Regions from separate parts of the Homo sapiens genome. Here all the other regions are linked to region 3. Evidence: promoter capture Hi-C in 16 types of primary human blood cells and fetal thymus (Javierre and others, 2016). All regions are on one chromosome and are shown on one strand. Each heading gives the region's core, a stretch centred on a gene start or on the middle of the fragment in contact. The rest is flanking DNA. Distances are from core to core; before and after follow the strand shown.

Region 1 (5,091 bases), core at 1,313-3,812, 3.3 Mb after region 3:
AAAGTTGGTTAGTCCTACAGATGGAAATTTCATCTCAGTAGGATTATATAGCTATTTCTTTTATTAATAAAAATTTTCTATTAAGTGTACCAGAGCCACTTTTCAGCTCTGAGGATAAGGAACTTTATAGGTGCCTAGATGAGACTCTTTTTATTCCCCTAGAAATGTTGAAATTTTTGCTCTAATTAAATTAGACTCAAAATATGAACATTCCTTGAACATATACCACTTAGTCATCCAGACCTTTAATATCTAAAGTAGTAGTAGTAGTGATTGGAAAGAGAAAGTTTTCAGTGATGGTGCAGTGTTTTTTTTGTGTGTGTATGTGTGTGTGTGTGTGTTTTGTTTCGGTTTTTTTTTTTTTTTTTTGAGATGGAGTTTCGCTCTTTTTGCCCAGGCTGGAGTGCAATGGTGTGATCTCGGCTCACTGCAACCTCCGCCTCCCGGCTTCAAGCAATTCTCCTGCCTCAGCCTCCTGAGTAGCTGGAATTATAGGCACCCGCCACCACACCTGGCTAATTTTGTACTTTTAGTGGAGACGGGGGTTTCACCATGTTGGCCAGGCTGGTCTCGAACTCCTGACCTCAGGTGATCCACCCACCTTGGCCTCCCAAAGTGCTGGGATTACAGGCATGAGTCACTGCACCCGGCCTGTGTGTGTGTGTGTGTGTGTGTGTGTGTGTTTTCAAACTCATGGGCAAATTCAAGTTCAGATGGTGCACTTTTCATTGATTAATGTTATAGCAAATGTCAGTTTGTTTTCTTCAGTTTCTGCTGATGGTTTTAACTGGCACAGAAAGTATTTATTCAACCTTACAAAACTGTGTAAGTTGTATTGTGATACAGTTTATTGACTTGTACAGTATTGTCATTACAACCCATTCAGGTATGCATGAATCTGAAGCAGAACACCATTTAAGACTGGTGCTGTATAATATAATTCCTACAGATGTGGGTCCAGGGAATAGAACTGAGCCTGTCTTTTTTTTAATGTTAAGCAGGTTACCCCCAGTGGGGCTTCTACTAGACATCTCTCCATTTGGTCTCTTCTTACACTCCAACCCAGCAGGAACAGTTAATAATTGGATGTTTATAAAATGGGGGTAAAAGGGTTTACTGTGATGGATCCTGGCTATCCCTCTAGGAGGAGACCTTTGCTTCAGCAATGGTGTCTTCATCCTCGCAGCCTGAAGCTGCTTCATTTCCTTAGGTCTGTTGTGTTTTCTGTAAAGTGTTAGGAATTCTGGATATTTTTGTAAAAGAATCAAGATTTGTATAAAATGTTGTTTACAGATCTTTTAATGAATAAATACATAAACCCCCCACAGATCCCTTGGAGAATTCTTTAAGATCTTTTATGTCACTTAAATCTATAGCTAGCACATTTACCTAATGGTACTTCGGTAATAAGAATTAGTCTTAGACTGACCAGGCTTAATAACGGAGGTCAACATTTCCAGGCTCTTGGCAGACAAAGGCTGGGTCTAGACTGCACACTGGGCAGGGCATATAGTCTGACAACTTTATTTGGTTTTTACCTGCTTAATCAAAGGGAGGCTGCTTAGTCCAGGAGCCATGCAGAAGAGAGTGCATGGGCAGCAGCTTGAGTGGTTCGGAGGCAGTGAGGAATGCCATTCTATTACCGTTAAGTCCTAAAGGCAAAATGACAGGATTTTTAAGGAACTGAGGTTCCTTTTGATACGCAGACCATAAAGCTTCACAATTTTAATTGGAGACTGGCGCCCAATTCTAGAGTCTCTTTAAAAAATGTACTTACCCAATGCAAAGGTTTTAAGGGCACCGAGGGGGAAGGATAGTTGGGGTACAGCAAGGAAGTAAAAGAGGAATGACCCGGGGTGCAGTGGCTCACGCCTGTATTCCCCACATTTTGGGAGGCCAGGAGTTCGAGGCTAGGCTTGGCAACATAGAAAGGCTCCATCTCTACAAAAAAAATTAAAAATTAGCCAGGCATGGTGGTGTGCACCTCTAGGCCCAGCTACTCGGGAGGCTGAGGTGGAAGGATCGCTTGGGCCCGGGGGGTTGAGGCTGCAGTGAGCTATGATCACGCCACTGCACTCCAACCTGGGCAGCAGAACAAAGACCCTGTGTCTACAATAAAAAAGGAAAAAAGTCTCGCACAGAGGAAGAGAAGATTAAGGGGAGAAGGTGGGAGTAAGCAGAGGTGGGAAACCAGTTTATCTCTCCCCGCCAAATGCTGCAGCCAGTTCCCTCCAAAAGTGTTAAGGGGCTCCCTTTCCAGATATCAATGTTTTGGAGGAAACGAAAAGCCCCAACTTCAAATCGCCGCCATTCGCAGGCAAAAAAAGGGGCAGTAAGCAGAGGACAGGAAATTGAGGCCTTTCGCTGACGCAGACAAGCCAAGACGTTACGTCACGTCCGCCCAAAACAAACCAGCCCGGCAATTTCTAGATACCGGGCGGACCCGCCTTCAAAATTAGCAACTGAGCATGCACTAACGTCAATACGGAGGGAACGTGATTACATCAGTGTCAGGCGCCGGCGTAATTAAATATAACTGAGTTTACGCAGACGCAGAAAACGCAGGCAAACCTGAGGTCCTCAGAATGGCGGGCACAGGTTTGGTGGCTGGAGAGGTTGTGGTGGATGCGCTGCCGTATTTTGATCAAGGTTATGAAGCCCCTGGTGTGCGGGAAGCGGTGAGTGCGGGGTGTCTTTGTAGCTGACTCACTGCTAGCTGGCTCGGTACTGAAAGAAACATGTTACAATTTGCCACTTCTACCCTGGTCCCTATTCTCTTTCTTAGGCTGCAGCGCTGGTGGAGGAGGAAACTCGCAGATACCGACCTACTAAGAACTACCTGAGCTACCTGACAGCCCCGGATTATTCTGCCTTTGAAGTAAGTATGTCTTGAGCCTAGGTGTGAACGAGAATTCCTGTGAACCTTTATTTTGGATTGAGAGCTTTAAATTCCAGTTTTAACCATTGCCTGCATAGCTACTACTTACCTACTGTATAGGTGTCAGTCTATTGAAAACAACTAGATAGATAAGTCTTCTCCGAGGTTCTTATTCTAAGATCCATAGGAAGACTTTCTGGGGCTCCACAACTCACTTAATGCAAAAATTTGTGGCTACCATTCTTTGAGATAGGATCCATGCGTAAATTCTCAAAGGGACCCTCTCCTGCCAAGATTCACTCTACAGCAAGTGATCTAGGGTTTTTTAATATGTATAAGCCTAATTACCTAAGCTCTTTAGAACCACTGGAGAGTGGCATATTAAAGTCTAGTTATTTACCAAATGTATGTGATACGACTGAAAGGACAAACCATATCCAAGTGTATACTACTTTTTTCTCAGCCTTCTCCTTTTTTCTGTAATCTATCCGATGTTTTTATTAACACATTTCTGATTAATGTAGGCAATAATTTTCACTGATATGAATACTTTACAAGTGCTAGGTGCCATTCTAGATTCTGAGATCATAGAGATATATGGGGTTTCTTTTTTAATATATTTTGTTTTCTTTTAATTTTTCTTTTCTTTATTTAAGACAAACATCCTCTCCAAAAAAGATAGGGTTTCTGAATACAGAAAAATACAATACAGTGAGGAGCTAGATATATAAAACAAAAAGTTTACAATAGTATGTATAAATGTGTAATAATATGTAAAGGACCTATAGCGGAGGGTATGTATAAGGACAAGAGGATTAGAGAAGGGAGTGTCCATGATTGCCTAAGGAGTCAGATGCTGTTCTACTCCACACATTGAGTATGATACTATTTTAAATGTATAACCTTGAAGTACACCCAGGATTCTAGTTAGGGTCTAGTTAGCTAAATGAAATGTAAGATATCATTTCTAAATTATTGGATTCAAGTATTTCAGTATGTACAGCTTGGAGGATTTTTTCCCATTATACCTAATCGTTTATTTATGAAAGGATTGTATTATTAAAAGGCAGTATTTAGCTGGGTGTGGTGGCTCACACCTGTAATCCCAGCACTTTAGGAGGCTGAGGTGTGAGGATCACTTGAGACCAGCCTGGGCAACATAGTGAGACCCTTTCTCTACAAAAGAAAAATTAAAAAGTTAGCCAGGCATGATGGCATGCACCTGTAGCCCCAGCTACTCAGGAGGCCAAGGTGGGAGGATCACTTGAGCCTGGGAGTTCAAGACTGCTACAGTGAGCCATGATAATGCCATTGCACTCCAGCCTGGCAATAGAGTGAGACCCTGTCTCAAAGGGAAAAAAAAAAAAAAAGATATTATTTACATTAAAGTAACATGAAAAAATTGTTAGTTAAGTTTGTTGTTGTTTTTGTTTGAGACGGAGTCTCATTACGTCACCCAGGCTGGAGTGCAGTGGTGCCATCTCTGCTCACTGCAACCTCCACCTTCCGGGCTCAAGTGATTCTCCTGCCTCAGCCTCCCGAGTAGCTGGGATTGCAGGTGCCTGCCACCATGCCTGGGTAATTTTTGTATTTTCAGTAGAGACGGGATTTTACCATGTTGGCCAGGCTGGTCTTGAACTCCTGGCCTCAAGTGATCCACCCACCTCAGCCTCCCAAAGTGTTGGGATACAGGTGTAAGCCACCATGCCCAGCCTTGGCTGAGTTTTAAGTAGAAGACGTATGTTCCTATGAACGTGTTTTCCTATGCTTTTTCTAAATATTTGTACCTAGGTGTAGATGTTAACCACATTAAGAACTAAGTACAGTAATGCTTCCTTATTGGACTGATTTCTGAAGGTTTCAGATAACTGCATTCAATCACAGACTTTTTAAAATACTTTTGCCAGTTTTTTTCCTTCTCTCTTAAATACCTTTGTAATTAGTTTACTGATGATTTAATTAGTAAACTCCCAGGTTCAAGTGATTCTCCTGTAATTAGTTTACTGATTATTTAATCCTTTCTTTTTTTGAGACAGAGTCTTGCTCTGGTGCCCAGGCTGGAGTGCAACTCCTCGGCTCACTGCAACCTCTGCCTCCTGGGTTCAAGCCATTCTTCTGCCTCAGCCTCCCAAGTAGTTGGGATTACAGGCACGCACTACCATGCCCAACTAATTTTTGTATTTTTAGTAGAAACGTGGTTTCACCATTGTGGC
Region 2 (5,217 bases), core at 594-3,093, 3.2 Mb after region 3:
TAGTAACTTACTGATATTAAAATATGTTATGGAAATCTATTGTGTTCATTAGATAGCAATCTGAAGTTGAAGGAAATACACTAGTATGGAATATTGAACAGTGGTTAACTTTGAGGGTAGGCTTATGAAGAGCAATTTTCCTTTTTAATCTTTAGTTTCCAGATTTTCTAAAGTTAGACATAAAGGAATTCAGAAAGGAGTCATCAGTGTATAGGTAATAAAAGGAAGAAGCACCAATGAAGAGAGCAAAGACATAGAAGTCAGGAAAAAGCACCAACGATAATTTCAGGAAGTCAATGGTAAACATTTTTTTAGATGCTACAGAGGTCAAATAAAATGAAGAATGAAAATAAGTCATTCAGTTACAAAAGCTTCACTGCTATTTCAAGAAGCGCTTAGGACTTTATTTCCAATTTATTGAAGGATTATGTAATAGTGTCAGTGACCTTGCTGTGCACTAGAATTATTCCTTAACAACTAAAAACTATAGTAAAATTATCTATGTCTCATAAACAGACACTGTTATTTAATTTTAAGGTAATTGTAGCATTTAGTTTTTCTATTTGTTTCTTCTTACCTTAGCTGATTTTTAAAAAATAATTTTAGACTAATTGTTGTGGATTCTGTTGGATTAGATAGGGAAGATTAACACAAATTGAAACCACAATTTTATGTTCTGAAGCATAAAAGATTAGATTTTTTTTTTTTTCCTCTCTGAGACAGAGTCTTGCTCTGTCGCCAAGGCTGGAGTGCAGTGGGGTGATCTTGGCTCACTGCAGCCTCTGCCTCCCAGGTTCAGGTGATTCTTCTGCCTCAGTCTCCTGAGTAGCTGAAATTACAGGCGCGCATCACCATGCCTGGCTTATTTTTGTATTTTTAGTAGAGACGGGGTTTCACCGTGTTGGCCAGTCTGGTTTTGAATTCCTGACCTTGTGATCCACCCGCCTCGGCCTCCCAAAGTGCTGGGATTACAGGCATGAGCCACCGTGCCTGGCAAGATTAGATATTAAGGCTTTCATTTCATTGACATGATTTATAGAAATAGATTTAACGAAGTCCTTTTTGTTTAGTGTAATCTTTGTATTCTGAATATTAGTTTACTACATGAACATTTTAATATATAAATGCATCCATAGCTGTCTAAAAATTACATGTTTACATATGTACAAAGAAACCACAATTGGGATGAAGATTATTGGCAGTAAAACATGGCTGTGGTTGTACAGTTGTGAAATAGTTCAGTTAAAGGGGGCACACAGCTAAGAAAACAGATTTGGTAATGCAATGGAACCCCCAGATTTTAAAGGGGGGTTTTGTAAAATCAGTAAAAATAGTACGTAATTAGGAACAAATATATATAGAAGGGTAGAATTAGCCATAAAATGGCAAGAAAGAATAAGGCTTATAAAGCATTTGTTTGAGATGTGAAAATAGACCTGAATTGTTTGGTGAATGATTTGATCCAGGTTAGTCTAAAGGTGACAGACAAGAGAAAAGCAAAACTAGAAAATTCCTGTCGCGCTCCTAGTTTTTTCTGCTGAATGCAATAATTTTCATACTTGAAACATAGCAAAGCAAGAGAAAACTGAGGCCCCAGATGAGTGAGAAAATAACAGGATTACTTGGCGGTTGCTAGGGTGCTAGTTGCTAGGTGTGTGATAGTAGTCAAATAGAGACCTATGACAGGAACTGTAAATGTCCTGATTTTTCAGTCAGATGTGGGAACTATTGAGCTTACTTTTCATCCCTAGCAAAAACCCCAGAGCCAGTGAATAAATAACTTGGCAGACTAGCTCATGATAGCATAATGGTCAATATGGAGAAATGTTGGATGGATAGCAGTTAGTAAGAGACTGATTTTAGAGAAGTCTCCAGGTGTATGCTGCCAGATGCTATCCTCGCCCTGCTTTTTTCAGAGACCTAATGAGTAGTTCTGTGAGTACCTATGTGCTACGTAAGCACTTATTTTAGGCTTTTTACGTGCAGCAACTCATTTAACCATCTCAACAACTCTGTGAGACAGGTGTTAAGGTAGGAGAATGAATGATTAAAAGATAAACTACAAAGAGTCTGATAATTTAAAATTAGTCACCAAATTGGAATACTAGATTAACCAACAGAAGGCATTTTAAAAGCATTAGGTTATAGTTTTTTTATTTGGGAACAAACGATCCATTACGGAGGAACTGAAAGAAAACCTGATTTCGCTAATGTGATTTGTGAAGAAATGATGGGGATGTGTTTTAGTTTTACAAAGTTATAAAACTTCAGTCTACAGAATCAAGGAGTGTAATCACTCAGTACTTTATATTGGTCGGGTACATTAAGAATAGTAGTGAAATGCACTTTAATGAATAATTACTTAGAACCTATCCAGAAGACAGCAATTAGTGTTAAAAATGGTTGTGTTCAGAAAATTGGAAGAAACAGTGGAAGTCAAGGGGAGGTATGTCTGAGAATACAGAGTAGTTTTCTAAAGATCTTATGGTGAAATAGGCTACCTTTTCCAAATTGATTGTCAATCAGTAGAAGCCAAGCAGACCAGATTAGGGGGGAAAAACAACTTAGATGTTGTAATAAATTACAAAGCATAGATTTCCACCCCCTCTCCCCAAAGGAACTTGGAAACCAGTTAGGTGCTCCCACTTTACTTTTGAGGAAAAAATCCCAGAGATGTTAAAAGTACTTGAGAGTCAGGACTGAAAGCCAGTCTTTTGACTTTTATGTTCTTCAGGGAACTTTAATCAATTTCTTGAGTTACAAATGAAGTTTAAATTTGACCTGAGATTTGTTCCATTTCTGCTTTTATTAAAGGAGGACTAATTTTGTCAATGACTTTTTCAGTTTAAAAGTAAATATGTAGAAAAGGGTAGAAGGTCTAAACTTTATGAGGCTGGAGATATTTGTCTGTTGTGTTACCTACTATATGAGTAGAACCTAAAATAATGCTGATGCATTGTATGAACTTAATTGTGGTTGAATGAATAAGGCAGTGGTTAAGAATGGAGTCAGAACTGGATTCTGTTCCCACATTTGCCATTTTTAGCGCTGTGCCCTTAAGATGGCTAAGTGTTTTCTCATCTGTGAACATTAGATTTTCTGGTCTTTAAATACATTTGAAATCATACTGTATAAATATCTTATGTCTCATTTCCTATTACAGAATAAGCATTTTCCACATATTGTTTCCAATGACCACATAGCATTACATAAGTTACAATGACGTCTTGAGCTATAAAGTGTGTTAGACTTTATATTATTTCCAGGAATTTGCTACAAAAATATATTTGTTAAAATACTTGTGTATAAAGCTTTTTTCACATTTCAGATTTCCCCAGGAGAGCTTTTCTGCAATGCAGTTATTAAGAAAAATATCTCCACATTTTGATACATGTTGCTAAATTGCATTTCTAAAAGGTTGTACCAATTTACTACCATAAAAGTGGTGTGTGTGTTGTTCTTAGCTCACTTTTTCATTATTTTAAAATCTTACGTCTTTGCTAGTTTGGTATATGAAAGTATTAATTTGCTTTATCTGGATTTTTTATTGCAAAAATTCAAGTTTTTTTTTAATGTTTAATGTTTTAGCTTTTGTGTATAAAGTTTAATAATTGATATTCAAGAATGATTTATTTGCTCACTTAATCAGTAATTCAACATATGAGTGCCTGCTCTGTGCCAGGCACTGTTTATCTAAAATCTAGGGATTTAGCTTTGAATTGAAAGTTCTGCCCCTCAAGAAGCTTATATTCTGGTAATTTAATTGTACTGATTTGCCCTATCTACTCTGGTGTATTTACACTTTTCCCCCAGGTTTGAGTATAAAAGCTTGTGCTTTTTGTATAATCAGATATCAGTCCCTTGTGATTTTTTTTTAATTGATTTCAAATCTAGAAAGTTCCGCCCTTGCAAAGATTTTACAAATATACTCATCCATGGGGGTGTGTGTGTATGTTTTGGGGTTTTTGTTTGTTTGTTTTTGTTGTTTTGTTTTTGTTTTTGTTTTGAGACAGGGTCTCACTCTGTCACCCAGGCTGGAGTACGGTGTCAGGATCATGGCTTGACCTCCCAGGCTCTGGTGAACCTCCCACCCCAGCCTCTTGAGTAGCTGGAACTATAGGCATCCAGCTAATTTTGGCTAATTTTTGTATTTTTTTGTAGAGACAGGGTTTTGCCATGTGCCTAGGCTGGTCTCAAATTCCTGGGCTCAGGTGATCTGCCACCTCGGCCTCTCAAAGTGCTAGGATTACAAACGTGAACCACTGAGCCTGGCTGGTTTTTAAATATTTTTTAAGACATTAAACTCGGTTCATTTGAATACATTTTTACATGCTGTTAGGCAAGCAACTAAATTGTGGATTTTTTTCCCCCCTATTTAAAGAAGAAGTCAAGTAACATTTACCTACTGGGTCCTTCCTACCACCACCTTTGTTAGCATCTTTAATTTTTTATAAACAAGGTTCTGTTAAATTATCTACTTCCATTTGTCCTATACTTTCATGTAATTGTTTTTGTGATAACTTCCATTTTGCTTGTTTTTTGATGGTGCTGATTAAGAAATATTTGCAATGCCATTAAAATATAGTTTAGCCAAATTATTAGGAATTCTTTGAAAAGTATTAACATGTCACATGTCACATCAACTTATCTAAAGTTGTTTGAGTGGTGTGTTTCCCTTTGGAAAAATAAAATAAAGGCTTCCTCCAAATGGATAAAGGCTAGGGAAAGAGAGCTCTAGTCAGCAAAGATTCTGGGAGAAGGGGAAGGCTTTTTCAACTCTTTTGGTATGTGTCTAGGGATGAGACGGAGACTCGAACAGTAGAGCCCAGATTCCAACATTCTTGTTGGGGAACAACTTAGAGTCTTAAAATGCTAGCTTTGATGCTTTCTAATTCTGGTTCAGTCTCCCTTTGGGTGAGAAAAAGAGGATTTCTATCTCCTACCTGCAGTGATGTGTGGCAGGATTGGAGACTTGAGAATGGGGATATTTTGCAGCTTTAAGGCATATATATTTCAGATCATATCATTGTGTTCTTGTTTAATAGTAATCAGAACTATAGTCTAAACATGAGGCCAAGTGCAGTGGCTCACGCCTGTAATCCCATCACTTTGGGAGGCCAGGGCGCAGTGCAGGGGCCGGATCACTTGAGGTCAGGAGTTCCGAGAACAGCCTGGTCAACATGGTGAAACCCCGTCTCTACTAAAAATACAAAATTT
Region 3 (4,655 bases), core at 1,858-4,357:
TGACATTATAGGCTCAATGCAGCTAAACTGATTTACTTCTGCCCATTAAACCAGCATCAAAGCTTTTACACAGAGATTGGCAGTCTGAGACTGAACATATTTTTCAATGAATATCTATTGAAAACCTACCAATTAGACAGGCACCATTCTAGACACTGGAAATACACTATTAACAAGGCAAAATCCCTAACCTCATGGTACTTACCTTCTTGTACAGTGGTTCTCTAACTCTAGTATACATCCAAATCACCTGGAGGGCTTATGAAAACATTGCTAGAAAACACCATCTCATCTCTTCTCCCAGCACCTGTTTCTGATTTCATAAGTCTGAGGTAGGGCCTAGAATTTTTCATTTCTAACAAGTTTCCAAGTGATGCTGCTATTGCAGTTCTTGGACCACACTTTGAGAACTACTAGTACATGAAAGTCTGTCCTTCATTTCAAAATCAGAGCAGCCACTTACCCTTGGCATAGAAAATGGTTGAGCAACTTGGCACACTATTTTTGGAAAGATGCCATAATTTCTGCACTTTTATTAAATTCACTGAAAATCCATAATCCACTGGTTATTTATAAAAGGGACAAGAGGTGAATGAAGGAGATAACAAATCAGTCCCATCTGTTCTTTACATGGAAGAGTAAAAAGTATCCCCAAAAAACACCCATGCAACTTAAAACACACAAAAATAAAGAAGTTACAGTCTTTTATGAGGAGCTGTTTCTTTTTGCTATTGTTTTTTGTTTCTTTGGTTGGTTGGCTTAACTCTACAGGGTCTTTCTAATTATCAAATGCTGTTTTAGTCTAACACAAAAAAAATTCAATCTCAACTCTCTGATAATATTTTCTGGTAATAATCACTTACTGGCCTCATTGCTTCTCTCACAGGAACCAACATAAAGCCAATTTAAAATCAAGGAAAGATAATATTAACATGGTGATAATGCTCTTAGCCTAGGCCATTTGATTAATTCTTTCCCAATTCCTCTTATTCCTCCAGACTCTGTAGTTGTTCCTTATGTTTGTCTGTCTTTGGCCATCTACCACCTCCTTCTACAGTGTTTTCCTTGGAGAATTCATATAGCATGCCTAGGTCCAGGGACTCCCATCTGTCTATTTCCAGTCCTTTCCACCTACATGAATACTAATTATAGAGTTTCCAATATTTACTGAACATCTCCACTTGAATACCTTATAGTTTCACATTTAACATGTCTATAACCAAGCCTACCTTACTTCTGGTACCCCTCTCTTTTCTTCTGACACTAAGACACAATTTTCCCAGCTCTTCAGGCTCAAAACCATTTAATAACCTTTGAATTATTAATAAAAAAATATTATTATAGCAGCCAAGATTTAGAGAGTGCTTACGCTATAGTAACTGATAACATTATGCAATTGTTTAATTACATACAGCAATTAATGAAACCGAGCTAACATATGCAAAGCACTTAGAAAAGCCTCTAGCACATTGTAAATATGAGCATAAAAAAATTATCCATAAGGACCTGGTATGGTGGCTCATGCCTGTAATGCCAGCACTTTGGGAGGCCAAGGCCTAGGAGTCAAGAGTTTCAGACCAACATAGGCAACACAGCAAGAACCTATCTCTACAAAACATTTTTTAAAAAATTAACCAGGCATGGTGACGCACTCGGGGAGGCTGAGGCAGAAAGATCACTTGAGTCCAGAAGTTCGAGGTTGCAGTGAGCTATGATCACGCCACTGCACTCCAGCCTGGGTGACAGTGAGACTCTGTCTCTAAAAATAAATAAACAAATTCTCCACAATAACACCACAAGGGAAGTCACTCTTCCTATCTCTATTTTACAGACAAGGAACTCAGACCCAGAGATGGCAAATTGCTAACTCAAAGTCATTTAGCAGCTAATTGCCAAAGCCAGATCCCAATCCAGCCAGTCTAACTCCAAAATTTCTGCTTTTAACCACTATGCTAAACTGCTTCTCTTTGCCTCTTTCTCTTTAGTCAATTCCACCTGACTGTTACTCTGAAACAGGATCCCTTTCTCTCCAGCACTTTCAGTTCCAGCTCTTTATCACTGGATTACTGCACTGATTTTCCACCTAGCACCTCCGCCTCCATGTTTTTCACTCTTTTCATTTAAACGTCATAATACTACCGACTAATCTTTTCAAATGAGCTTTCCCTATCCTAAAGCCTTGAAAAGGCTAAATCGTTTGCCAGTTTCCAAAAACTCATCCTATCTAACCCCCGTATTTCTCGAATAAACCTTCCTGTCAGGCTGGCTAGTTTCCTTCCTCGTCCCGCGACCTTGTATTCTTCATATTATTCGTTTTACTTAGAATAACATCCATGTTCTCCTCTACTTCTTTTAACTAATATTATCTTCTGAGGCCCACTTCCTTTCGAGTAAGCCCAATTCTAGCAGCCTTTTTTCATCGCCTCGATATTTAAACTACCTCCCATACAACTTGCACTGTTCACTTTGTTCCACGTGCACAGCTTTCGCCTCCTTTCTGACAGTTCACGACCAAACCTTCTTCCGAGACCCCATGATCTCCGCTTCCTAACCTACAGCCCCCAAAACGATGTTTCCAAGATGCACTGAAGGCCTGGACCGTGGCAACAGACCTGCCACACATTCCTAAACGAGTCTTCGGTCAGGGGAGGGTGACGGAGGGTTCCACACACCGAACACACGGTCATATCATCCTCAGGCCAGCCCGTGCACACGCACGGTCAGGCAGCTCTGCTCAGCACCCGCAACCGCGCCGAGTAGCTGAGGGGCTTCCAAGTACTGCTGTGGGGACGCCCGTAGTTACCTGAGTTCCCCCAGCCCTAGCAACCGGCCTTTAACACGCCCGTCTCGGCTGCTGCTGACATCACGAACGCCTCAGCCAGAATCTGCAAAATCGGAGCCGCAGATAATGCTCTCCGCCCCAACCACGCACCTCCAGGACTCACCTCAGCCTCCACGAGGCTCCCAGCCGATTGGACCCGCCCACAAGACCTGCCCCTTCCGGGTCCGTTCCGGAAGCCTCTTCCGCCAGAGGTTCCCTTTGCCTTCTAGGAGGAAATGACGGAGAAAGCCGGGCGCTGATTGGTGAGCTCTGGCCAGGAGCGGAAGCCGGTGTTTCGCAGCCCAGAGCATTTGCAGCTGGTCACTCCAGTCTCCTGGGACTTTGACTCGCCGTACTCGGCGCGCTCCTGCTGAGGGTCGCCGGAGATGTCGCTCGGCCGCCTTCTACCAGGAGCCTGATCCGTGCCGCCCGCCGCCCGGATGGGACCACCAGAGTGCTGTGAGAGGAGGGACTGAGGCCGGGAGGGAAGGCGGGGCGGAGAGGGCCGGGGGCGCGGTCCGAGGCGCTCGGGACTCGGCCCTGGTCAGGATTGCAGGCTGAGGGTTAGTTCTGTCACTTCTCTTGAAGAACGAGCCTGGCGCCACTTCCTCGCATGTTGGTTAGGTTCTTTCCCGAGGCGTTGTCGGGGACGCCGTCTCTACGAGAAGTGAAAGGGTGGGCAGTCGGCGGGCACTAGGAACAGTGGTGCTGTAGCCAAGGAGGCGGGCGCCCTAGGGTGCAGGTGAAATGGGGCAGGCGGGAGCTCTTGCTGGTTGTAGTCCCAAAGACAAGTCCGTGTTGCCGTTCCTGTGGACTGGACATTCTACGGAACCGAGAGCACCTCGGGTGAGGGGTGGGTAGACGCTGAGCCCAGGATGGTGCGTTGTCTAGGTTCCCGCAATCCCTGGAGTGACACTGGCCTGGCTTTGTGTTTCCGCTCTCTGGCCGCTTGAGGGGGAAGTGACCAAGGCTGACTCCTCCTTGTTTGCTCACTGAGACTTAAGTGCTCTTTCACCAAGTGGGAATTAGCTTTTCTCTCTTGCATTTCTGCTACTTTTATTCTTGAGCTGCATAGAAGTGTTTAGAAATGAGTTCTGATGTCTAGAGCTGTGCAAAATTAAAGCTAACATAGCTGTACAAAAGAAGATCCTGCCGGCGCTTCTTGAACAAGGTATCTGCAGCCAGCCTAGAAATTAGACTTTTGTCTACATTATCTGATTTTCTTTAGAGTTTCCTGAGCTTAATGCATGTTCAGCTAATCTTCCATATTCAAGAAAATTGCAATAGCAAAGAATGCGTATGATGAGACTGTGGACAGCTGTAGCAGCATAGGAGTTTTGAAACAAGATTGCTGTGTATTGGATAAATGAGAAGGGAAGAAATTGTGGCCACAAACTATTATTTTAATAAGCTTGGTGGGAAAGGGAGCATTTGAGTGGGTATGTATGGTTAATATCCCTGACAGGTGCTGTGCATTATATTATTATGGGGAGAAGTGTGTGCTTCAATGGAAAACTACATAGTTTAGATTCTATCTTAACACCCCTTGGAATAACTAATTCTAAAAAAGCTATTTTTCAGTTACGTAAACTAGGTAAGTGACATCAATGCTAAATAATTATTGTCAAGACATGCGAATTCTCTCAGAGATTCAGTGGAAGTTTTGCCTCCTTTTGCACATTTATTTCAATATTCCTGCTCTAAGGTGTCTAATTCTGGGATTTTCTTTATCTTCTCTGCCTGGTTCCATTTTGAGTTAAATAAAATCTTGAACACGGGTTTGGTTTTATATTTGAATGAGTCATGATTTTACCTTTTCTTAAAAAACTATCTT
Region 4 (4,909 bases), core at 246-2,745, 3.2 Mb after region 3:
AAGCTTTAAAGTACTGTAGATGTGGCTCGCCAATTAACCCTGATTACTGGTTTCCAACAGGTTCTTGCTGGTGTGAAATGACTGAGTACAAACTGGTGGTGGTTGGAGCAGGTGGTGTTGGGAAAAGCGCACTGACAATCCAGCTAATCCAGAACCACTTTGTAGATGAATATGATCCCACCATAGAGGTGAGGCCCAGTGGTAGCCCGCTGACCTGATCCTGTCTCTCACTTGTCGGATCATCTTTACCCATATTCTGTATTAAAGGAATAAGAGGAGAGAAAGTAAAAAGTTATTTTGGGTATACATTCAGTTATGCAATAAGCTTAACGTGTTTATAGAGAACAGTTCATTTTTATTAGCTGCTGAAGTTTCTAAAACCTGTCCAGTTTTTAACAGTTCTGTAAACTATTGCAAACTCAGTGTTGAGTTCATTCATGAGTTTCTTCATATATAACAGCTCTATTACATGAGAAACACAGGCCATAGTAGCGAGACTGTCTGATTGTATGGGAGATAATAGGATGGAGATAAAGGATTCAGAGATGAGTGTTCTTCAATATTTATTTATTAGCTAGTTGAAGCAGCTGAGACCAGATGATTGGAGTAGCAAGAACTTGAGATTTTTAGTCTTTATGCCTAGGATTTTGGTCCCTGTTTGCAGTTTATTTAGTTGTGTGATATTGAGCAACTGAATCTCTCCCAACCTCATTTTCCTCATGTTTTAAATTACCATAAACTTGTCCTGCCTACCACACAGGGATGTTATGGAAAGTTAAATAATATATTTAAGTTATTTATGAATGGTAAAGCACTATGTAATAGTACTTAGGGATTCTATTGTTATTATGAGAGTTCATGGTACAGATTGTCTTCAGTAAGTGGCACCTAAGGCTCTTTAAATAAAGGGTTTTGCCGGACACGGTGGCTCACGCCTGTAATCCCAGCACTTTGGGAGGCTGAGGCAGGCGGATCACAAGGTCAGGAGTTCAAGACCAGCCTGATCAACATGGTGAAACCCCGTCTCTACTAAAAATACAAAAATTAGCTGGGTGTGGTGGCAGGCACCTGTAATCCCAGCTACTCAGGAGGCTGAGGCAGGAGAATCGCTTGAACCAGAGGCAGAGGGTGCAGTGAGCCGAGATCACACCACAGACCTCCAGCCTGGGCAACAGAGCGAGACTTCGTCTCAAAAAATAAATAAATAGATAAATAAATAAAGGGTTTTGTAATTTTGTTCAGTTTAGAAATGCCTAACTTTAGAGATTATTTTAATCAACACCTGGCCTCCCTACCATCTGGCTACTCGTGTTTAATTGATGAAAACTAACTCTAATGTAGCCACTATAAAAAATTGGTTGCTAACCCTTGGCAAAATCTTTATTTTGAGCTTAACAGCTTTAATATTTTACATGAAATGTTTAATATTTTAATTAAATATTTTTAAATGTTTGATTTATTGAGCAATTTACATAAGTAAAATACATAAATTTTATGTCTACAGCCCAGTGCTTTTTGCGTTTCTATATAGTCATGTAGCTACCACCCAGATAACAGTATAGAGCACTTCCAGTACTCCAGAGAGTTCTCCAAGTGTGATGACATTAAAATACAAGTAAAAGTCCTGTTGCCATAAAACCAAAATGAAAGTATTTTTTATATGATCTATGCATGTTTGTCTTCCTGAGAAATTAAACATAACTATACCTTGTTTGGAACCTTTAAGAATTTGATTCAGGAATATTTCCCAAAGGTACATCTGTCATGATAAAAAAAAAACCTTCTCTGAAACAAAGGTATTTGTATATTTAGTCATAAACACAAATGATGTATATAGGGCCAGGTTATAATTGGTGGAGGTATGTTTAGATTTCTTTAAGTAAAATAAACAGCACAAATAAAACAGTCCAGTTCATAGCTTAGTGAAATACACTGGGTACTTAATCTGTAGCCTCCTGGCTGCAGTAGAGTTGTCATTTGAGTTACTGTGTTTTCTTAATCTTTTCCAGGAACACAGTGACCATATTTCTTTTCTGCAGGCATATAGAATTTGGTGGGTTTTCTTTTATGTAGGGTGATATTGGATACTTTTTGTTTGTGATTATATATTAGCAATTTGAGGGACAAACCAGATAGGCAGAAATGGGCTTGAATAGTTAGATGCTTATTTAACCTTGGCAATAGCATTGCATTCCCTGTGGTTTTTAATAAAAATTGAACTTCCCTCCCTCCCTGCCCCCTTACCCTCCACACCCCCAGGATTCTTACAGAAAACAAGTGGTTATAGATGGTGAAACCTGTTTGTTGGACATACTGGATACAGCTGGACAAGAAGAGTACAGTGCCATGAGAGACCAATACATGAGGACAGGCGAAGGCTTCCTCTGTGTATTTGCCATCAATAATAGCAAGTCATTTGCGGATATTAACCTCTACAGGTACTAGGAGCATTATTTTCTCTGAAAGGATGATCTTTGTGTTCTGAATCTTTATGGGGAAATGAGGTTACCACACTAGGGAAGATAGAGCTTTTTAATTATGGGAAGAGTTGGTTTTAGGTTGTTTGACATTGAGAATCTAGGGTAATTACTGAAAGTTAATACTGGAATTTATTTTACATAATATACTGTTACTATAAAGTTTGATAATACATAAGTGAAGCTTGCTACTGGGAATGACTTGGAACCAGAGTTGTTGTAATTAGAGATCACGAAGGAATTTCAGAGAGGAAAACATCTCCAAGAAACATCTTTCAGTATGTAATGGAAAAGATAGGCCAGGCACAGTGGCTCACACCTGGAATGTCAGTGCTTTGGGAGGCCAAGGCGGGAGGATCACTTTCAGCCCAGGAGTTGGAGACCAGCCTGGGCAACAGAGCAAGACCCTGTCTCTACAAAAATAAAAATAAAAAAATTAGTCACACATGGTGGCAGCTACTCGGGAGGCAGAGGTGGGAGGATCACGTGAGCTCAGGAGGTCGAGGCATGCTCACTCCACTGCACTGCTGCACTCCAGCCTAATCAACAGAGCAAGATTCTGTCTCCAAAAAAAATAAAAAATAAAATGATAGGAGTAAGCAAATAGGAAGTCCATAAAGATGAAAACAAAGCAAGGGAACATAAAGATAGACTTTGTCCATAGAACCATAAAGTTTCAAAGCTAGATTGGACCATAAAAATTCTAGTACAATATTCTTATTTTGCAGAATCAGAAACAGAGTTCAGAATGTCGTTTGTTAGGTTTTGGAGTCAGGATTGTTATTAGTAGCAGAGCCAGGACCAAAAACCCAAAGCTCCTTTTTCTTAGCACAGTGTTCTTAAACAGAATAATATAATGGTTAAGAATGAGAACTCTGCCTGGATTGAAACCTAGCTCTGTTTATTAGCGACGTGACTCAGGGGCTATGTGGCTTTCCTAACCTATAATATGGAAATAATAATACCTACCTCATAGAGTTGTGAAGATTACAGTTTTAATAAATACGCAAATCACTCAGAATAGTGCCTGGCACACAGTAAATGCTACTTAAGTGTTCTGCCTAAAGGCTTGAGTCTTGGCTTATTTTCTATCCATGTGAAGATGTCTGCTCTCAAAAGCAGATTGGTCCAACACTGAATTCAAGTGTTCTTTTCCTAACCTGTTGTACTTCCCATTTTTTTTTTGTCTAAAAGTAATAGCAGTACTTAATAAAATGCCCACACTTGGCATGCATCTAATAAATGTTTTTTGAATTTCTAGAAGTCATTTTTCTTCTTTCTTACAAGAAATTTATTCATTTTTCTATATGCCTTAGCTCAAACCAAAGAGTATTTAAAACATCTTATGAAAATGCATATAGTAGAGCAAGATAAGATTAATGAAAAATAGGCTTAAGTGAGACCAAAAAAATAAGGGTAAAATAAACAAATTTAGGAGTGAGCATATTCTGTGATTGTGCATGAAGTTCCAGTGGCTTTCTAAAGGTGGACTACAAATTTGGTCACTGTTGTGAAAAGGAAAGTAGCCAGCTGAAAGATTCAGTATCTGTATGCTGAAAGCCGTTAAGTTGCTCGGACTAGAAGGAAATTTTCCCATGGATCCTCAAAGAGGCTTGTTTAATGTAAAAATCAGTAGTAACCTGACAGTGACATGGTCCAGGTACTTTAGGCTGTCTTATCCCTTAATGTAGGCTATTACCATCAAGCACAGTTTTGCAAATAGCCAGTGGAATGTAGTTCAGATACATGACTTTGTGGGTAATCCAGGGGTAGAGACTAAAACAGTACTGTGCAGTATGTGGTTATTTACAGTTAATTAAGATTAAATAAAATTTAAAAATTAGTTCCTTGACTACCAAATGCTCAATAGCCACTAGTAGGTACCATGTTGAACAGTACAGATATAGACCATTTCCATCATCACATAAAGTACTGTTGGATTGTGTTGGTCAAGACAATCTAAAGCAATTGTTTCCCAGGTGTGCTGTGTGGTGTGCCTTACATGTCATTGAAAGGGGTGCTGTCAGGAGTTCTAGATGCTTCAGCCTCCCTTTACTAAGAGCAGTTCTTATGTTTTCTATTTTATCGCTTGGGCTTCCAGATACAATGTTTTGTTTTAGGTTTGTTTTTTTTGTTTGTTTGTTTTTTTTTTTTTGAGACGGAGTTTTGCTCTGGTTGCCCAAGCTGGATGGAGTACGGTGGTGCGATCGCGGCTCACTGCAACCTCCGCCTCCCGGGTTCGAGAGATTCTCCTGCCTCAGCTTCCCGAGTAGCTGGAATTACAGGCGTCCACCACCATGCCTGACTAATTTTTTTTGTATTTTTAGTAGACTTGGGGTTTCACCATGTTGGCCGGGCTGGTTTCAAACTCCTGACCTCAGGTGATCCACCCGCCTCGGCCTCCCAGAGGGCTGGGATTACAGGTGTGAACC
Region 5 (4,944 bases), core at 604-3,103, 3.2 Mb after region 3:
CTTTTAAGAATACACCTAAGTCAGGTCCAACCAGAATATCTCCCTCTTGATTAACCCAACTGATTAGAGATCTTAATTATATCTGCAGTAATCCCTTTGCCATAAAAGAGATATAAGTGATACAGCTTCTCGTATCCACGTTTCACCTATGCTTAAGATGGGATGATACAAGACACGTACGACACCAGTGGGAATCTTGGTGGCCAGCTTGGAATTCTACCTACTCCAGTGGCTTTTAGCAGCTCAGAATAAAATCCTGGAAACCATGAAGCACTCTTTGAGGAAATGCTACATTATCAGTGTTCTTGGTGGGCTCAAAATAATTCTATGTGGGAAAACCTGGATATCTATGAACCAGAAAGATTCAGCAAGATGCACCAATGAATAGTGGGCTAAAATTTAAGCAAAAACAGGATATTTATATACGTTTGCGTTAGTTCCTAGAGTTGCCATTACAAATGAACTCAAACTGGGTGGCTTAAAACAAATTTATTCTTTCGTAGTCCTGGAGACTAGAAGTCTCAGGGAGAATGTGTTCCATGCCCCTCTCCTAGCTTCTGGGGTTGCTGGCAATTCCTGTTCCCTGATTTCTAGATGTATCACTTCAATCTCTTGTCTTCATATGGCATTCTCCCTGCATGTCTCTAGTCAGTGTATAAAATTCTCTCTTCTAAGGACGCTACTCATTGGATTCAGGCCCACTCTAATCCAGTATGACTTTATCTTAACTTGATTACCTCCACAAAGGCCCTATTTCTAAATAAGGTCATATTCTAAGGTTCTGGGTGGGAATGAATTTAGGGGGGACACTATTCAATTCAGTACATTACCAAAGCATTGCCCTGCCCCCAAATACTCACTAATTACAAAGGGAAAAGTAGTAATTTTACAATGGAGAATCCTGGCAGACATCAACTGATTAAGGTAAACATCATTAATAATACACTTCAATGGCTGGACAAGGTGGCTCACACCTGTAATCCCAGCACTTCGGGAGGCCGAGGTGGGTGGATCACCTGAGGTCAGGAGTTCAAGACCAGCCTGGTCAACATGGTGAAACCCCGTCTCTACTAAAAATGGAAAAATTAGCCGGGCGTGGTGGTGGGCGCCTATAATCCCAGCTACTTGGGAAGCTGAGGTGGGAAGATTGCTTGAACCCAGGAGGTGGATGCTGCAGTGAGTCGAGATCATGCCACTGTACTCCAACCTGAGCGACAAGCGTGACCTCATCTCAATAATAATAATTGTAATAATACACTTCAACATTATATACCCCTGATATTGAGCAATGATAGGCACATAACCTCTGTAGTGTTCCAAATAATGTATAACCTCAATCTAATCAAGAGAAAACATCAGACAAAACCAAATTGAGGGAAATCTGCAAAATAGCTGACTGATACTGTTTTAAAGTATATATATAGAGAGAGAGAGAGAGTCAGTGTCTCACTCTGTTGCCCAGGCTCACTGCAACCTCTACCTCCTGAGTTCACTCCGCTCAATGCAACCTCTACCTCCTGAGTTCAAGCAATTCTAGAGCCTCAGCCTCCAGAGTAGCTGAGATTGCAGGGGCCTGCCACCACGCCCAGCTAATTTTTGTATTTTTACTAGAGACGGGGTTTCACCATGTTGGCCAGGCTGGTCTCAAACTCCTGACATCAAGTGATCCGCCCGCCTCGGCCTCCCAAAGTGCTGGGATTACAGCCATGATCCGTCACACCCAGCCTGTTTCAGTGTTAAAGTTGTAAAAGACAAAGACTAAAGAACTGTCATAGAAGGGAGACAAAGGAGACATAAAAACTAAATGCAGTGTGGGATCCTAGATTTGATCCTGGAGGAGAAAATGGACATTGTTGGAATAACTGGTGCAGCCCAAATTAATTTTGTATTTCAAGTCATATTATCATGTCAAAGTTGATTTCCTAGTTTTGAAAATTGTTCTATAGTTATGTAAGGTTAAAATAGGAGAAGCAAGTACAGAGTTTATGGAAACTTTCTGTACTATTTTTCTACCTCTTCTGTAAGTGTAAAAATCTAAAAAAAAAAAGTTCATCCCCCTGATTTCTAATGAGGCTGGGTATAATTTCAAGTATTTGCCTATACAGGTTTTAAAAAAAATATGGACCTTCAAGTATTTTCTCCATTTTCCTTTTCTTTCCTTTTGGCTTTTTCTTATTAATGTATTATATATTCATGATACCAATACATTTTTTATATAATGCAAATATACTAGTCTGTTGATTTTTTAAACTTTTTTATGTTGCCTCATGATGAATGGAATTTTTAAAATATGGTCAAATTTATTACTGAAAAGAAAGAGATTCAGAAGAGTTAGACTTTGTGAAGAAGTTTTAGGAATACCTTAACAAATTTATTTTGCCATTTTTTTTTTTTTTTACTTCATATACACACAAAAGGGAGACATGATTTAAATCTATGTCTAGGCAGGGCACAGGTGGCTCATTCCTGTAATCCCAGTACTTTGGAAGGCTGAGGCAGGAGGACTGCTTGAGCCCAAGAGTTCAAGACCAGCCTGGGCATCGCAAAACCCCATTTCTACAAAAAAATACAAAAATTAGCCAGGCGTGGTGGTGCATGCCTATAGTCCCAGCTACTCAGGTGGCTGAGGCAGGAGGATTGCTTGAGCCTGGGAGATGGAGGCTGCAGTGAGCTGAGATCATGCCACTGCAATCCACCCTGGACAACAGACTGAGACCCTGTCTCCAAAAAAAAAAAAAGTTTAAAATAGCCCTTTCAATAAATATAAAAATTCTAAGTAGTGAAAGTTTTATTTCATAATTGTATTAGTCAGTTCTCGTGCTGCTATAAGGACATACCCGAGACTGGGTAATTTATAAAGAAAAGAAGTTTAATTGACTTTCAGTTCTGAAAGGCTGGGGAGGCCTCAGGAAACTTACAATCATTGCAGAAGGGGAAACAAACACGTCCTTCACATGGTAGCAAGGAGAATGAGTGCTGACAAAAGGGGGAAAAGCCCCTTATAAAACCATCAGATAGGCTGGGAGTGGTGGCTCATGCCTGTAATCTCAGCACTTTGGGAGGACGAGGTGGGTGGATCACTTGAGGGCAGGAGTTCAAAACCAGCCTGATCAACATGGTGAAAGCCCATCTCTAGTAAAAAAAAAAAAAAAAAAAAAAAAAAAAAAAAAAAAAAACTCAAAATTAGCTGGGCGTGGTGGTACACACCTGTAATCCCAGCTATTTGGGAGGCTGAGGCAGGAGAATTGCTTGAACCCAGGAGGCCGAAGTTGCAGTGAGCTGAGATCGTGCCATTGCACTCCAGCCTGGGCAACAAGAGCAGAACTCCGTCTCAAAAATAAATAAATAAATAAATACAAATAAAACCATTAGATATTGTGAGAACTCACTCACTATCATGAGAACAGTGGCACAGGGGTAACAGCCCCCATGATTCAATTACCTCCCATCAGGTTCCTCCCACGACATGTGGACATTATGGGAACTACAATTCCAAATGAGATTTGGGTGAGGACACAGCCAAACCACATCACTCCGCCTATGACCCCTCCCGAATCTCATATCCTCATATTTCAAAACATGATCTTGCCTTTCCAACAGTCCTCCAAAGTCTTAGCTCATTCCAGCATTAACCCAAAAGTCCAAGTCCAAAGTCTCATCTGAGACAAGGCAAGACCCTTCCCTTATGAGCCTATAAAATCAAAAGCAAGTTAGTTACTTCCTAGATACAATGGCGGTACAGGCACTGGGTAAATATACCCTTTCCAAATGGGAGAAATTGGCCAAAACGAAGGGGCAATAGTCCCCATGCAAGCCTAAAATCCATTACACCAATCATCAAACCTTAAAGTTCCAAAATGATTTCCTTCGTCTGACTTGATGTCTCATATCTAGGTCACATTGATGCAAGAGGTGGGCTCCCACAACCTTGGGCAGCTCCACCCCTGTGGCTTTGCAGGGTACAGCCCCCCTCCCAGCTGCTTTCACAGCTGGCGTTAGGTGTCTGCAGCTTATCCAGGCATACGGTGCAAGCTGTCAGTGGATCTACCATTCTGGGGTTTGGAGGATGATGGCCCTCTTCTCACAGCTCCATTAGGCAGTGTCCAGTGGGGACTCTGTGTGGGGGCTCCAACCCCACATTTCCCTTCTTCACTCCCCTAGCAGAGGTTCCCCATGAGGGCTCCACCTCTACAGCCAACTAATGCCTGGACATCAAGGCATTTCCGTACATCCTCTGAAATCAAGGCGGAGGTCCCCAAACCTCAATCCTTGACTTCTGCACACTCACAGGCCCAACACCATGTGTCAGCTGCCAAGGCTTGGGGCTTGCACCCTCTGAAATAATGGCCTGAGCTGTACCTTGGCCCCTTTTAGCCACAGCTGGAGTTGAAGTAGCTGGGACTTAGGACACCGTGTCCCAAGGCTGCACATATCCCAAGGCTGCACAGAGCAGGGGGTCTTGGGCCTGGCTCAGGAAACTATTTTTCCTTCCTTGGCCTCCAGGCCTGTGATGGAAGGGGCTGCCATGAAGGTCTCTGACATGCCCTGGAGACATTTTCCCCATTGTCTGGATGATTAGCATTTGTCTCCTCATTACTTACGCAAGTTTCTACAGCCAGCTTGAATTTCTCCCCAGAAAATGGGTTTTTCTTTTCTACTGCATCATCAGGCTGCAAATTTTCTAAACTTTTATGCTCTGCTTCCCTTTTAAATACAAGTTCCAATTCCAAACCATATATTTGTGAATGCATAAAACTGAATGCTTTTAAGAGCACCCAAGCCACCTCTTCAATGCTTTGCCACTTAGAAACCTCTTCCATTAGATACCCTAAATTCTCTCTCTTAAGTTCAAAGTTCCACAGATCTCTAGGATAGGGGCAATATGCTGCCAATCTCTTTGCTAAAGCATAGCAAGAATCACCTTTATTCCAGTTCCCAACAAGT

Evidence for each region. Contacts are between HindIII fragments. The CHiCAGO score rates a contact against its expected background, and 5 or more counts as called.
Region 1: a contact is called between the fragment with the promoter of BCAS2 here and the fragment with the promoter of GDAP2 in region 3, in 1 of 17 cell types (non-activated CD4 T cells). The highest score is 5.0, in non-activated CD4 T cells.
Region 2: a contact is called between a fragment that was not itself captured here and the fragment with the promoter of GDAP2 in region 3, in 1 of 17 cell types (monocytes). The highest score is 9.1, in monocytes.
Region 4: a fragment that was not itself captured here is called in contact with the fragment with the promoter of GDAP2 in region 3 in 2 of 17 cell types (monocytes and fetal thymus); the score reaches 9.0 in monocytes.
Region 5: a contact is called between a fragment that was not itself captured here and the fragment with the promoter of GDAP2 in region 3, in 1 of 17 cell types (neutrophils). The highest score is 5.4, in neutrophils.

The regions. Positions count from the first base shown.
Region 1 is chr1:114,579,086-114,584,176 of GRCh38, reverse strand. BCAS2 (BCAS2 pre-mRNA processing factor) reads left to right here and starts at 2,562. Exons shown (of 7, transcript NM_005872.3): 1 at 2,562-2,678; 2 at 2,786-2,878. The coding sequence starts at 2,586. It overlaps DENND2C (DENN domain containing 2C), which reads left to right. Exons shown (of 21, transcript NM_001256404.2): 21 at 1-1,327. It overlaps LOC105378914 (a long non-coding RNA gene), which reads right to left and starts at 2,334. Exons shown (of 3, transcript XR_947719.4): 1 at 1,778-2,334; 2 at 1,539-1,652. The HindIII fragment of the contact is 8,807 bases long and covers 1,718-5,091 here.
Region 2 is chr1:114,743,357-114,748,573 of GRCh38, reverse strand. All of the region lies in intron 2 of CSDE1 (cold shock domain containing E1), which reads left to right. Among named protein-coding and RNA genes, the nearest start is that of CSDE1, 12 kb to the left of the region's middle. The HindIII fragment of the contact is 2,940 bases long and covers 374-3,313 here.
Region 3 is chr1:117,928,073-117,932,727 of GRCh38, reverse strand. GDAP2 (ganglioside induced differentiation associated protein 2) reads left to right here and starts at 3,107. Exons shown (of 14, transcript NM_017686.4): 1 at 3,107-3,280. WDR3 (WD repeat domain 3) reads right to left here and starts at 2,989. Exons shown (of 27, transcript NM_006784.3): 1 at 2,946-2,989. RefSeq lists enhancers at 2,837-3,006, 2,888-3,182. The HindIII fragment of the contact is 4,170 bases long and covers 65-4,234 here.
Region 4 is chr1:114,711,329-114,716,237 of GRCh38, reverse strand. NRAS (NRAS proto-oncogene, GTPase) reads left to right here. Exons shown (of 7, transcript NM_002524.5): 2 at 61-188; 3 at 2,260-2,438. The coding sequence starts at 78. Among named protein-coding and RNA genes, the nearest start is that of NRAS, 3.0 kb to the left of the region's middle. The HindIII fragment of the contact is 2,336 bases long and covers 328-2,663 here.
Region 5 is chr1:114,763,449-114,768,392 of GRCh38, reverse strand. No RefSeq gene overlaps it. Among named protein-coding and RNA genes, the nearest start is that of CSDE1, 7.9 kb to the right of the region's middle. The HindIII fragment of the contact is 8,893 bases long and covers 1-4,944 here.